Regions from separate parts of the Homo sapiens genome. Here region 1 is linked to region 2. Evidence: promoter capture Hi-C in human tissues and cell types (Jung and others, 2019). All regions are on one chromosome and are shown on one strand. The core of a region is centred on a gene start or on the middle of the fragment in contact, and the rest is flanking DNA. Distances in the headings are between cores, read along the strand shown.

Region 1 (5,608 bases), core at 288-2,787, 170 kb before region 2:
CTAATACGGTACTGCTGCACTCCAGCCTAGACAACAGAGCCAGATCCTGTCTCAAAAAAATAAAAATACAAAAATAACTCTATGAAGCAAATACAGTTGTTGCCAGATGTTAAAGTTTAGAAAGTTAAGAGTAACTGCCCTAAGTTACATGTGTGAGGGTCAGGCCTGGGGTTCTAGCCAAGGGACCGACTCCAGAGCTCTGAACCACTAAAGTTAAGCTTTATCGAATTTGTGCAGATTAGAGCATTATTTCATCATAATTTAGGTACTGTATTGTCACAGAAGGTGGGTGGGGAGGGAAAAAATGTTGATTTATTCTTGAATTACTGTGGAGTGACTGGCCTTTTGTTCAGATTCGTAAGGACTCTTGACGTCTAATGAGCCTTAACTCTTGGTCCCCAATGTGTCTTGCAGGTATTTTCTCCCCGCACTTTGTTTTCTAAGTGATTGTACGACTCTCTGTGCAGAATTTAAGTATAGAGTGATATATGTCCCTCTATTCCTTATGGCTTCAGAATTTTAAAGCTTATTTTGGAAGGCTTCCCACCCACAAGAGTTTGAAAATATTTTCCTATATTTACTGCTGGTACTTCTGTATTTGTATTTTTGCCTTTGAATTTTGACTCAATCTGATACTTACTTAGGGCTCTGGGCAAAGCAGGTATTTGATTTTTTTTCTCCCCTAACCCCGTGAGGAGAGGGCTGGCCCCACTGCCCCTGGGGTTCCTTGCTAATTTCCCCTCTTCATGTCATGCCACCTCCTTCCTGGTCCCCCGATGGGTCTGAGCTCAAGCCTTTTCCAAAGCTCTTAGGAAACCGTGCATTTGTGTGGGTTTTCTGACCTGTAGATACCTTTCTCCTGTTTCCCATGCCTCCTCTGGAGCTTAAATTCACATTAATGGAATTTCCAGGGAAGGGGAGGAGGTGTTAGCCCCCTTCCGGGGCTCTGTCGGCTTCCTTAAACAAAAGGCTTCCCCACTGGATTTAAATTAGAAAAACAGTTTTCCTTTTCTTAGGCCATTGTAACATATGCATATTTATATGTTGACTGTATTTTTTAAATCTCATTGTGTAGTAGGAGTGATCATGATATTCTTAAATGGAAAATGATTTACCTAAAGTCTGCCTAATAAAGTAAAGAATGGCTTTTTCCAAACCAGATACTTTTTAATCTTATTCAGGGTTGGTAGCCAACCTTGAAATATGTCCGTAAGATGCTTTGTTTTTTTGTAAAATTACTTACACATTGCTTTTTAACCATGGTAATAGAAGTAGTATATAACAAATAGGCCTACTTTTAAGAAATTTTGGATCAACAAGTTGGTTTGGTCAATAAAGAAAGCCTAAACTGGGCCAGTATCATATTTTCCTTTAAGGGTCATTACTATGAAGTGATCATTAATTATTGATGTGTTTATGGAATATTCTGTTTTAACAATGAATAACCAGAGCCCCTGAAAATCCAAGTCGTGGACATGCATACAGTGGGCCTTTAACATGGAATTTAAATTATTTGGGGATTAATGAATAATTGTAGACATCTATCCTTTTTAAGTGTGAAGGATGTTATTAGTTCAAAAATTAAATTAGAGAATTAAGCCATTTATATTTTATGAAGGATGAAGCCCTGAATTCTTAACCATCCATTTTTAATGAGAATAATTGCCAGATTTATTTGCAAATAATTTCCTAGTGTTAATCTCTTTGTTGATATGAAAGGTATTTTAGATGTGTGGCTTTCAGCCTTTGGTCTAACAAGATCCATTTGTGGGCAGGAAATGCTAAGAGCATGAGGTTCGTTGAAGTGACTCCTTAGCAGCACATGAAGGGATGGGGGAGGGCTTTGATGCTGGGAAGAAACTCACCTGGAGTGTCCCATCTGCTCTGGCCAGACCACACCTAGGTGGTCTTCAGCTTGGGATACTGCTTTTAAGTGGGAATGGCAGTGAGCCAGGAACTGTGCAGGGGCTGGGGAGCAGGGCTCAGGTGCAGAAGAAAAGACATGGCGTACTCTTGTGGCTTTTGTTGGATGTCCAGAAGGGCTGTTTTGTAAGAGGGAGCCTCCAAGCTGTGAAACCTAGTCCCCGCTAAGAAGAAGGAAAGAGCAGTGATTCTGGTTATTGAGAACCATGGAATGTATACCCTCTCCCTAGAAAAGTGCTTGTTTGTAAAATTCACATGCACAGAGGATTCACAAACCCCCTGAATTCCATCATAGAGCTGAACTTAAATATATAGAAAAATGTTGACTTGGTGCACAAAGAAGTCACCTCCCATGGGTCTGTACCATGGTGGAGTGGCCTGCCTCAGCTGGCGAGCTTTCTCCCCTGCAAAATCCTGTCAAGATTTGGAGATGAGGAGTCCGAACAGCCTGGGCTCTTCCAGCTTAAAGTCTCGTATCTCTTAAAATTGACAGTAAAACCAGAGTCATTTCTATGTTTTAATGAAATCACGTGGCCGGTGGACAAGAGGACAAATGGGTGACGTGAATATGTGTGTTTTCCCGTAGCCACCAACCGCTAAAATGCACGCCATCATCGAGCGCACGGCCAGCTTCGTGTGCAGGCAGGGAGCACAGTTTGAGATCATGCTGAAGGCCAAGCAGGCCCGGAACTCCCAGTTTGACTTTCTGCGCTTCGACCACTACCTCAACCCCTACTATAAGTTCATCCAGAAAGCCATGAAAGAGGGACGCTACACTGTCCTGGCAGAAAACAAAAGTGACGAGAAAAAAAGTAGGTCCCACTGCGTCTGTTCCGTCCAGACTTTGGGCCTGTGTTGTGGGGGCGGCAGGCTGGGTGGTTCTGGGAAAAGTGTGAAGATACACATTCTTACAGATGCATGGTTGAAAGCCAGACTCGAATTTCTAGAATGTGTCTGAAATCCTGCAGCTAAGGCGTGATCGTTACCCCTGCTGGTGCACCTTTATTAAATCTTTGGTTAATATTTTATAGATAAATGAAATATAACTAAATATTGATGCTGTCAGAACATAATCATCTGGGTGGGAAATTTTTGCCCTCATTTTGCCCACTTAACATTTCATAGAGAAAACAGTTATATATCCTCTCTTGGATTATTCAAGTACCACAGTGTTCAGGGCTGTATAGCTCAATTATACATGGCCACAAAAGTGAAAATTTTACTTGGATTATCTATTTTAAGCTATTATTTTTATAACAGTGTCTCTATTTTGGAGTTCTTACTGCCAAAGCCAGTTAGCTGTATTTTGAATAAAGATGGTATTTTGACAAGTCTATTCATATATATGTATATATATACACACACACACACATCTTCCATTGAATTTTTTTTTTTTTAATTGGCGACAGAGTCTCGCTCTTGTCGCCCAGGCTGGAGTGCAATGGCGTGAGCGCGATCTTGGCTTACTGCAACCTCCGCCTCCCGGGTTCAAGCAATTCTCATGCCTCAGCCTCCCGAGTAGCTGGGATCGTGGGCACGTGCCACCACGCCCGGCTAATTTTTGTATTTTTAGTAGAGACAAGGTTTCACCATGTTGGCCAGGCTGGTCTCAAACTCCTGACCTCAGGTGATCCACCCGCCTCGGCCTCCCAGAGTGCTGGGATTACAGGCGTGAGCCACTGTGCCCGGCCCTTCCACTGAATTCTGTTCTCTTCAGCCAAAATAAGTTTCAAATCAGTTGTGTAAATCTTAATGCAGATCTCATCTTCAGTTTTGTTGTAGTTGTTTATTTCTGTTGCTATTATTTTGCTTTTCATAAATCAGTACAATTTTTGCCCTTTTTTAAAAAAAGGAAAAAAAAGGCAGAGAGAAAGAAAGCATACAGAGCCCCAGACCAGCTGGTGCTCGATGCTGGCAAGGAGTCACCAAATGGGCAAAGGTCGCAATCCTTTTTATCTGGCCTTCTTCTGGACAACTTGGGTGACTCTAGGGAGAAATTTCTAAAAGTGTTTTTTCGACAGATAACCAAGATAACTTGGCTGCTTCTAAGTTTTTGCATAATTAATTTGTACTTTTTTTCTCACCAAACACCAAAATCTTGAAATGTGATTTTGATTTCAGAATCAGGAGTCAGCTCTGACAATGAAGATGATGATGATGAAGAAGATGGGAATTACCTTCATCCCTCTCTCTTTGCCTCCAAGAAGTGTAACCGCCTTGAAGAGCTGATGAAGGTTTTTATCTCATTGTTGAACTATATTTTTATGCCACCACAAAACTTCTGCTAATGTAATTTTGGAAAATTTGAAGCATGTCATTCTTGTGTGTTACAGTTGTATCTTATTTTATCATCATTGAGGTGTATTTGCATTTTTGTTTTTAGCTGGGTGACAAAGCATCTGCTTCTTTGGTTTCTTACCTGTCTAGCTTATAAAATTCGTGAGCATTTGCTCAGGATAATTTTACCATTTTATTACAATTTTACTCCTTTGAGATATTTAGAGTTCCAAGTAGAGTGTTGGTTAAGACTTGAAAATTGTTTTGTTGTGCGGGTGTGGTGGCTTACACATGTAATCCTAGCACTTTGGGAGGCTGAGGCAGGTGGATCACCTGACATCAGGAGTTCAAGACCAGCTGGCCAGCATGGCGAAACCCTATCACTACTAAAAATACAAAAATTAGCCAGGCGTGGTGGGTACACCTGTAGTTCCAGCTACTCGGGAGGCTGAGGCACGAGAATTGCTTGAACCTAGTAAGTGGAGGTTGCAGTGAGCCAAGATCACACTACTGCACGCCAGCCTGGGAGACAGAGTGAGACTCAAAAAGAAAAAAAAATTGTTTAGTTGTGATATCATCATAGGATTGGATTTTATAGGTGATCAGAATATATGCATCTTCGAGTCCTATGTTACCATCATAGATTGTTTTTAAATAAATATTTTCACTTCTAATTCTCCCCTCATCTGTGTGAAGAAACCACTCAGCATTATCTTGTGGTTAATTCACACCACTCTGCCATTCGCGACATAAAAAACAGGAGTCTATTAGATTTAAGCATCTGGTTTTCAGCAGTTGTGCATTGTGGGTGACCTTTTGTGGGAATGATTGCTGATTGATTGGACTGGAAAAGCTATTGGTGATTAAAAATCAGAAACTCCTATAAGGAAAGACAGTTTCAAATTTTGCATGGGGTTAGACATTCACACTTTAATTGGTGTCAAACTAGTCTTAGTTGTTCGTCTGTCCTTTTCTTGGTAGTTATTTTGGAAATTGAAACCCTGTGTTCACTCAGTTCCTCTGAGACAGCCAGCTGGGGCATTTGGCCACAACTCGTTAGGACCTCCATGGGTGCGTGCATGTGTGTGTTTTTTCTAAGGCATGTACACTGAGTCCTAAAGGTGAGCCTTTTGCAGCAGAAGAGTTCTGCATGGTTCAGAATATTGAATGCTAAGGCTGTGTCTTCTCTGTTTCCAGCCCTTGAAGGTAGTGGACCCAGATCATCCCCTCGCAGCACTTGTTCGTAAGGCACAGGCTGACAGTTCCACTCCCACCCCACACAACGCAGACGGTGCGCCTGTGCAGCCCTCCCAGGTGGAGTACACGGCAGACTGTGAGTACTCACTGTGTATGTCCTGACCTGTGTTCAGCTGCCTGTGACAGAGCCAGCTACAGGGCTCTAAACCCC
Region 2 (5,957 bases), core at 168-2,667:
GCATCCAGGACTTGCTGATCCAGCCCAGGGCATCAGGCTGTCCAGCTGCTGGGCTGCTCTGGGAGGCAGCATGGAGGGTCCTGGCTGAAGTGTGTGTTTCTGGGCTGTTACTTTAGGACTGTACTGAAGGCTGGGTTGGTGAGCATTGTTTAGAATCATGCATTTGCAAAAGCAGTGCTTGCACGTGGTGAAAGCCATTCCAACTAGCGCGCAACGTGTACGGTGAACAGCACTAACTTTTCCCCGGTCCTCTCTCCCAGAGCAATCGCTGTTGGCTGTGTCTTCTGTGAGTGAGCCCCCGGGCTCTTTTGGCTGCCGGCGGTGTGACTTTGGACACATTCTCCAACTTTTCTCCGCCTTGATTTCCTCATCTGTAAAACAGGGACATAACAGCAAGTGCCTCGTGGAATCATTGAATGGATGCACTAATCGCTGGAAAGTGCGCTGCTTGGCCTAAGTGATGAGTTAGCTGTCATTATAGTTAGGAACGACCATGTACACATTACAGGCGTTTCACACACACACACATCCCAATCCTACCGCTTTCTTAAAACGACAGACAGTACAGTGCCCTGTTCCATATTTTGCTTTTACTTAATTATAATCTTTGGAGAACTCACCCTTGAGCACAGGTATATTTACCTCTGTGCAGTGTTCCACAGGACCGATGCGCAGCCCATCTAGCTAACCTTTCCTCCCCAGCGGATTTATGGGCTATGTCGTTGGTTTGGGTGACAACTTTTTGGTCTACAATTTTTTTTTTTTTTTTTGCAATTTGGCATTATGGAACTCAACTTTAAATGCCTAACCTCTAACTCAGCCATTCTATTTCTAAGAATTAATTCTGCGCAGTCCCCCGTTTTGGGAACATTTCCCACGCCTGTTCTCCATTCTCCTGTAGAAGGGGAACAGGGAGCGGGAAGGAGGGGAACAGGGAAGGGGAGGGAGGGGAACAGGGAGGGGGGACAGGAGGGAGGAGAACAGGCAGTGGGGGCGGGAGGGGAGCGGGGGGGAAGGCATGGGAGGGGGCGGAAGGGAGGGGGCAGGGAGGGAGAGAGGTGATGGGAAGGGGAAAAGGAGGGAGGAGGACGGAGAGAGGGGAAAGGAGGGAGGGGAGCAGAGAAGAAGCGGGGCGGGGAAGGGGCGGGGAAGGGGCGTGGAAGGGAGTGGGGCAAGGAATCAACACTGAGCCCCGTGGCCCGCTCCCGGGTCAGCGCGCCTCTCTGCTCTCACCGGGGCGGGTCCGCTGTTGGCCCCACCCACTCCCAGCCCACCCGGCCCCGCAATGGCCCGGCCCAGCCGCCCACCCCCCCGACAGGCCCCGCCCCATTCCCCGCCCCCCGTCTGTTCGTCACGCCCGGCTCTGCCGCTCCGTCCCGCAGGCCCCGCCCTCATCCCGCCTCCCGGCCCGGCGCGCAGTGCGGCTGCGCGGGCGTCTCAGGCTCTGAGGCCCGGGCGCCGCGGCTCTTTTGTTTCTCCGTTGGGGCCGAGCCCGGGCCCTAGTTGGAGCCGGAGTCGGAGTCGGAGTCGGATCCGGATTCGGATTAGCAGCCCGGGAAGAGTGCCGTGGCACAGGCGCCGGAGGGAGCGCGACCCTCGGACCCCGCCTGGCCCGCGGGGCTGGGACCCGGCCCCGGCCTGCCCGATGGGGCGCGCGGCCCCGGAGATGCGCCCTCGCCCGGCCCCGCGCCCCCGGCCCCGCGCCCCCGGCCCGCCCGCCCCGGCCCGCGCCTCCGCCTGAGTCCCCCGCGCCTTGGCCCGCCACCCCCCGCCCCGCGCCCCCGGCCCGCCTGCGCCATGGAGCCCGGCCGCGGCGGCACAGAGACCGTGGGCAAGTTCGAGTTCTCCCGCAAGGACCTGATCGGCCACGGCGCCTTCGCGGTGGTCTTCAAGGGCCGCCACCGCGAGGTGAGGCCCCCGTCCGGCCCGGGATCCCCCGCCCAGGATCCCCTGCCCCTGCATCCCCGCCCCGAGATTCCCCGCCTGTCCCGGGACCCCCCCACGCCTCCCGAGAGCCCCACTCGACTTTCCAGGCCGACCCCCACCCCAGGATCCCCACCCCGCGACCCCCAGCCCGACTTTCCAGTTCAGACTCCCGCCCCGAGATCCGCTGCCGGGCTTTCCAGCCCAGATCCTCACTCCGAGACCCCCAGCCCGACTTTCCTGTCCAAACCCTCACCCCGGGACACCCCGCAACCTGGTCCCACAGCCGGCTTTCGAGGCTGGATCCCTACCCCAGGACCCCCAGCGCGATCCTCAACCTGGCTCCCCACTCGGCCTTCCAGTCCCGGGATTCCCAACCGGGATCATCTCAGGGCCCCACCTGTGTGGACTGGGGTCTGGGGGAGGCCTGCGAGGGGCAGCCCTGGCCTTGAAGGTGCACGTTTGGCTTTCAGAAGCACGATTTGGAGGTCGCCGTCAAGTGCATTAACAAGAAGAACCTCGCCAAGTCTCAGACGCTGCTGGGGAAGGAAATCAAAATCCTGAAGGTGAGCCAGTGCTGGGGGAGGGGGCGTGGGCGTGGGCGTGGGCAAGCCCCCCTCCCCACACTGATAACAAACTTGGGTTTCTGTCCTAGGAACTGAAACATGAAAACATCGTGGCCCTGTACGACTTCCAGGTAAGGCCTCTGGGCTGCGGTCTGCTGGGGACCGGGCTGGGGGACTGTGGCCCCAGGTGCTGGATCCCCTGGTGAGCACTGGTGTTGAGCCTGTCCAGGCTGGGGTCTACTGGGCCCCTGGAGACTCCACCCTGGGTCCAGGCCTGGGCTGGTGCTGGCTCTTGCTGTGACTTCCCCAGCTGTGAGACCGGGGAGGGGGTGTCTGGGCCGCAGGGCGCCCCAGGGCAGGGCTGAGTTCTCCTGAACAGGCATCCCCTCCCCGCCGGGCGTCAGTCCTAGGGGCCCTGCCTGAGTCCGGCGTCCCCGGCTGGCCCTGGCAGCACTGCCGGCCTGGCCCACCTGTCTAGGCCGTGTGTTTGTTGACATTGCTCCTGCGGCCGGCATTGGCCGGCCTCGCTCTGCGTCAGACGGGGCGGGGGAGGGGCCGCCGGAGACTCCTGCTCGCTGGCAGTCAGGGCCGGGCCGGGGCACAGGCGGCTGCCGCTGGCTGGCCAAGGAGATGACCTCGGGCCCGGCTGGCCCCAAGAAGCAAGCGGTGGGACCAGCTGGCTTTCGTGCTGCCTCCGTGTCCCGGGGCCCAGGGCAGGCAGGGCTGGGGCTGTGGGAGCCAGGGTGCCGTCCTGGGGACCAGGAACCTGAGGCGGGAGATCCGCCCCGCCAAAGTGCTGACTAATGGCTCTGTGACCTGTTTACTGAGCCCAGGGCCCAGCCCCTGGCTGAGGGAAGGGCTGGCAGGCCGTGTTTTGGTGGCCTCCTCCGTCCGCCTCTCAGAGCTTTGCTGTGGCCTTGGGGACCGAGGCTTGTCACAAGGTGCCGGGTGGGGGGGGCCCAGGTCCAGCGAGTACCTGGAAACCCAGGCACACTGTGTCCTGGAGCTGGGCCATCCCTCCTGCTGCTTTTCCCGCCCTCTTCCCACCCCTTTTCTCCCTGCTTTCCTCCCTCCCTTCCTCCTCTTTCCTCATCCTCTCCATGTTTGGAAGCCTCCTGCCTGGACCACAGCCTGCACATGCGTCATGGCTCTGGGAGCCAGCAAGGAGTGGACAGCTGTCCCTGGCCAGGCAGCGACTCTGAGGGACTCCCCCTCCACCCTGGGCTACACTGCCTGCTGCTCCCCTCCAGGGCTCCCCAGGTCCAGTCCTGGGCATCTCCAGGCCAGGCCCTGTGACTGTCCGCACGACCCCCGCAGACCCGGGACCAGTATCCCCAGGCCCAGCTCCATCCCAGTCAGCCACACACACCTGGTTGTGGGCATCTGCCACTTCCTCCAGTGTTGGCAACTCTGCGGCTTTCTCTACTCAGGAAGCACTTGGAGCCGCCAGCTGCAGGCGCTCCTGTCTCCGGGCACCGGGCTCTGCTGGAGCTGCAGCTTAGCCTGCCCTCGCCCCCACAGGCGTGGGGATTGTTGCCCTGTGTCGGTAAGGCAATGTTTGAGGCAGGCACCCAAACCCAGGAAAAAATAACTGGGTTTTAAAAATGGACAATGAACGATTTGGGTGATAAAAGAAAATCCTCAAACATTACGGGAGGGAGTGCGGTCGAGGCTAGAGTCCTGCCCCCGATCGAGTCCCGCTGCCCTCCGTTCTCAGGCCCCTGCTTTAGTTGTTTCCGGGCCACCGGGGACAGCCATCCTTACAAGGCGATGTGTTCACCGGTGTCCTTCCCCGCCACACCCACCTCTCTGCGCCGTGAATTTTGTCACTTAAGAGTATAGTTTGCACTCCATCCAGCCTGGGCGACTGAGCGAGGCCCTGTCTCTAAAAGAGTAGAGCTTGGGGAAGGTTCTGTGCTGGCTCAATCCATATCAGAAAGTTTACCCCTCGGCCAGGCACAGTGGATCACACCTGTGACCCTAGCACTGTGGGAGGCCAAGACAGACCAGCCTGGGCAACATAGCAAGACTCGCTCTCTCTAAAAAAAAGAAAAAAAAAGAAAAAAAATTAGCCAGGCATAGTGGCATGTCTCAGCTACTATAAAGGTTGTAGGAGGATTGATTAAACCCAGGAGTTTAAGGCTGCAGTGAGCCGTGATGTTGCCACCGCGTTCCAGCCTGGGCAGCAGAGTGTAACCCTGTCTCAAAAACACAAAACAAAACCCTCAAAAAGTTTACCCCTCTCTGTTAGAGGTCACCATCTGTAAGCACAGTGGTCGAGAGCCAGGCTGACGCTGATGAGGGGCCCAGTCCTGGCTGCCATATGTGCACACACAGCTTCTTTAGTTTGCGGTCCTATTTCTTCCTCTGTGAAGCAGAAAGCACGGGCTGTGAGGGCTGTGTGAGGGAGGAGGGAGTGCTCTCGGGTTGGAGGAGCCATCGTGGAGGTGCTAGCTGCTGGCCTGATTGGGTCTGCCGTGGTGATTTTCAGCCATGGCGTGCCTGTTGCCCGAGATTCCATAACTGATTTCACCAAGGCCCTGTAGGTGGGACATGAGGTTATTTTGGGATGCTGGTACATCAGGGTGGTTGTGACTGGATCCTTAGAAGTAGAATCCTTGGGTAGGAGGGATGCTGGTTTTTAATTTGGGTAGCTATTGCCAAATGGACCTCCGGAGAGGCAATGCCACTGGTCTCTCAGCCTGTCTCCAAGCATGTGTCTCCCTAGGTCCTTGCCAGGAGGGTGGCTCTCAGAGGTTTCCATCGTGGCTCATGTGAGAAGTAGAAAATGACATCTCTTATGGTTTTGCTTTTCTTTTTTTTTTGAGACTGAGTTTTGCTCTTGTCGCCCAGGCTGGAGTGCAGTGACACAATCTCCCCTCACTGCAACCTCCGCCTCCTGGGTCCAAGCGATCCTCCTGCCTCAGCCTCCCGAGTAGCTGGGATTACAGGCGCCTGCCACCACGCTAGGCTAATTTTTGTATTTGCAGTAGAGACACGGTTTCACCATGTTGGCCAGCCTGGTCTCGAACTGACCTCATGATCCACCCACCTCGGCCTCCCAAAGTGGTGGGATTGCAGGAGTGAACCACCATGCCTGGGCGGTTTTCTTTTACATTGGTGATGAATGAGCTTCCCTATCCGAGCATGGGAATGTTAGAAATACCACCTGTCCTTTGTATAGTGTATTTCTTTTTTTTTTTGAGATGGAGCTTCTCTTTGTCACCCAGGCTGGAGTGCAGTGGCGCGATCTTGGCTCACTGCAACCTCCACCTCCCTGGTTCAAGCGATTCTCCTGCCTCAGCCTCCCGAGTAGCTGGGATTACAGGCACCTGCCACCACGCCCGGCTAATTTTTGTATTAAAAAATTTATACAATTTTCGCCACATTGGCCAGGCTGATCTTGAACGCCGGACCTCACCTTCGACCTCCCAAAGTGCTGGGATTACAGGCATGAGCCACCATGCC

Evidence for each region. The method cuts DNA at HindIII sites, captures the fragments that hold promoters and counts their contacts. A contact is called where the count stands out against the background at its distance.
Region 1: a contact is called between a fragment that was not itself captured here and the fragment with the promoter of ULK1 in region 2, in 1 of the 25 tissues and cell types used here (H1 embryonic stem cells).

Annotation. Positions count from the first base shown.
Region 1 is chr12:131,722,896-131,728,503 of GRCh38, forward strand. SFSWAP (splicing factor SWAP) reads left to right here. Exons shown (of 18, transcript NM_004592.4): 5 at 2,510-2,735; 6 at 4,045-4,157; 7 at 5,398-5,533. Among named protein-coding and RNA genes, the nearest start is that of SFSWAP, 15 kb to the left of the region's middle. The HindIII fragment of the contact is 4,275 bases long and covers 1-3,675 here.
Region 2 is chr12:131,893,205-131,899,161 of GRCh38, forward strand. ULK1 (unc-51 like autophagy activating kinase 1) reads left to right here and starts at 1,418. Exons shown (of 28, transcript NM_003565.4): 1 at 1,418-1,908; 2 at 2,397-2,489; 3 at 2,579-2,620. The coding sequence starts at 1,798. LOC124903059 (a long non-coding RNA gene) reads right to left here and starts at 954. Exons shown (of 2, transcript XR_007063538.1): 1 at 643-954; 2 at 1-371. RefSeq lists silencers at 1,088-1,137, 1,168-1,677, 2,745-2,894, 2,820-3,114, 3,085-3,144 and 1 more and an enhancer at 3,602-4,399. The HindIII fragment of the contact is 30,695 bases long and covers 1-5,957 here.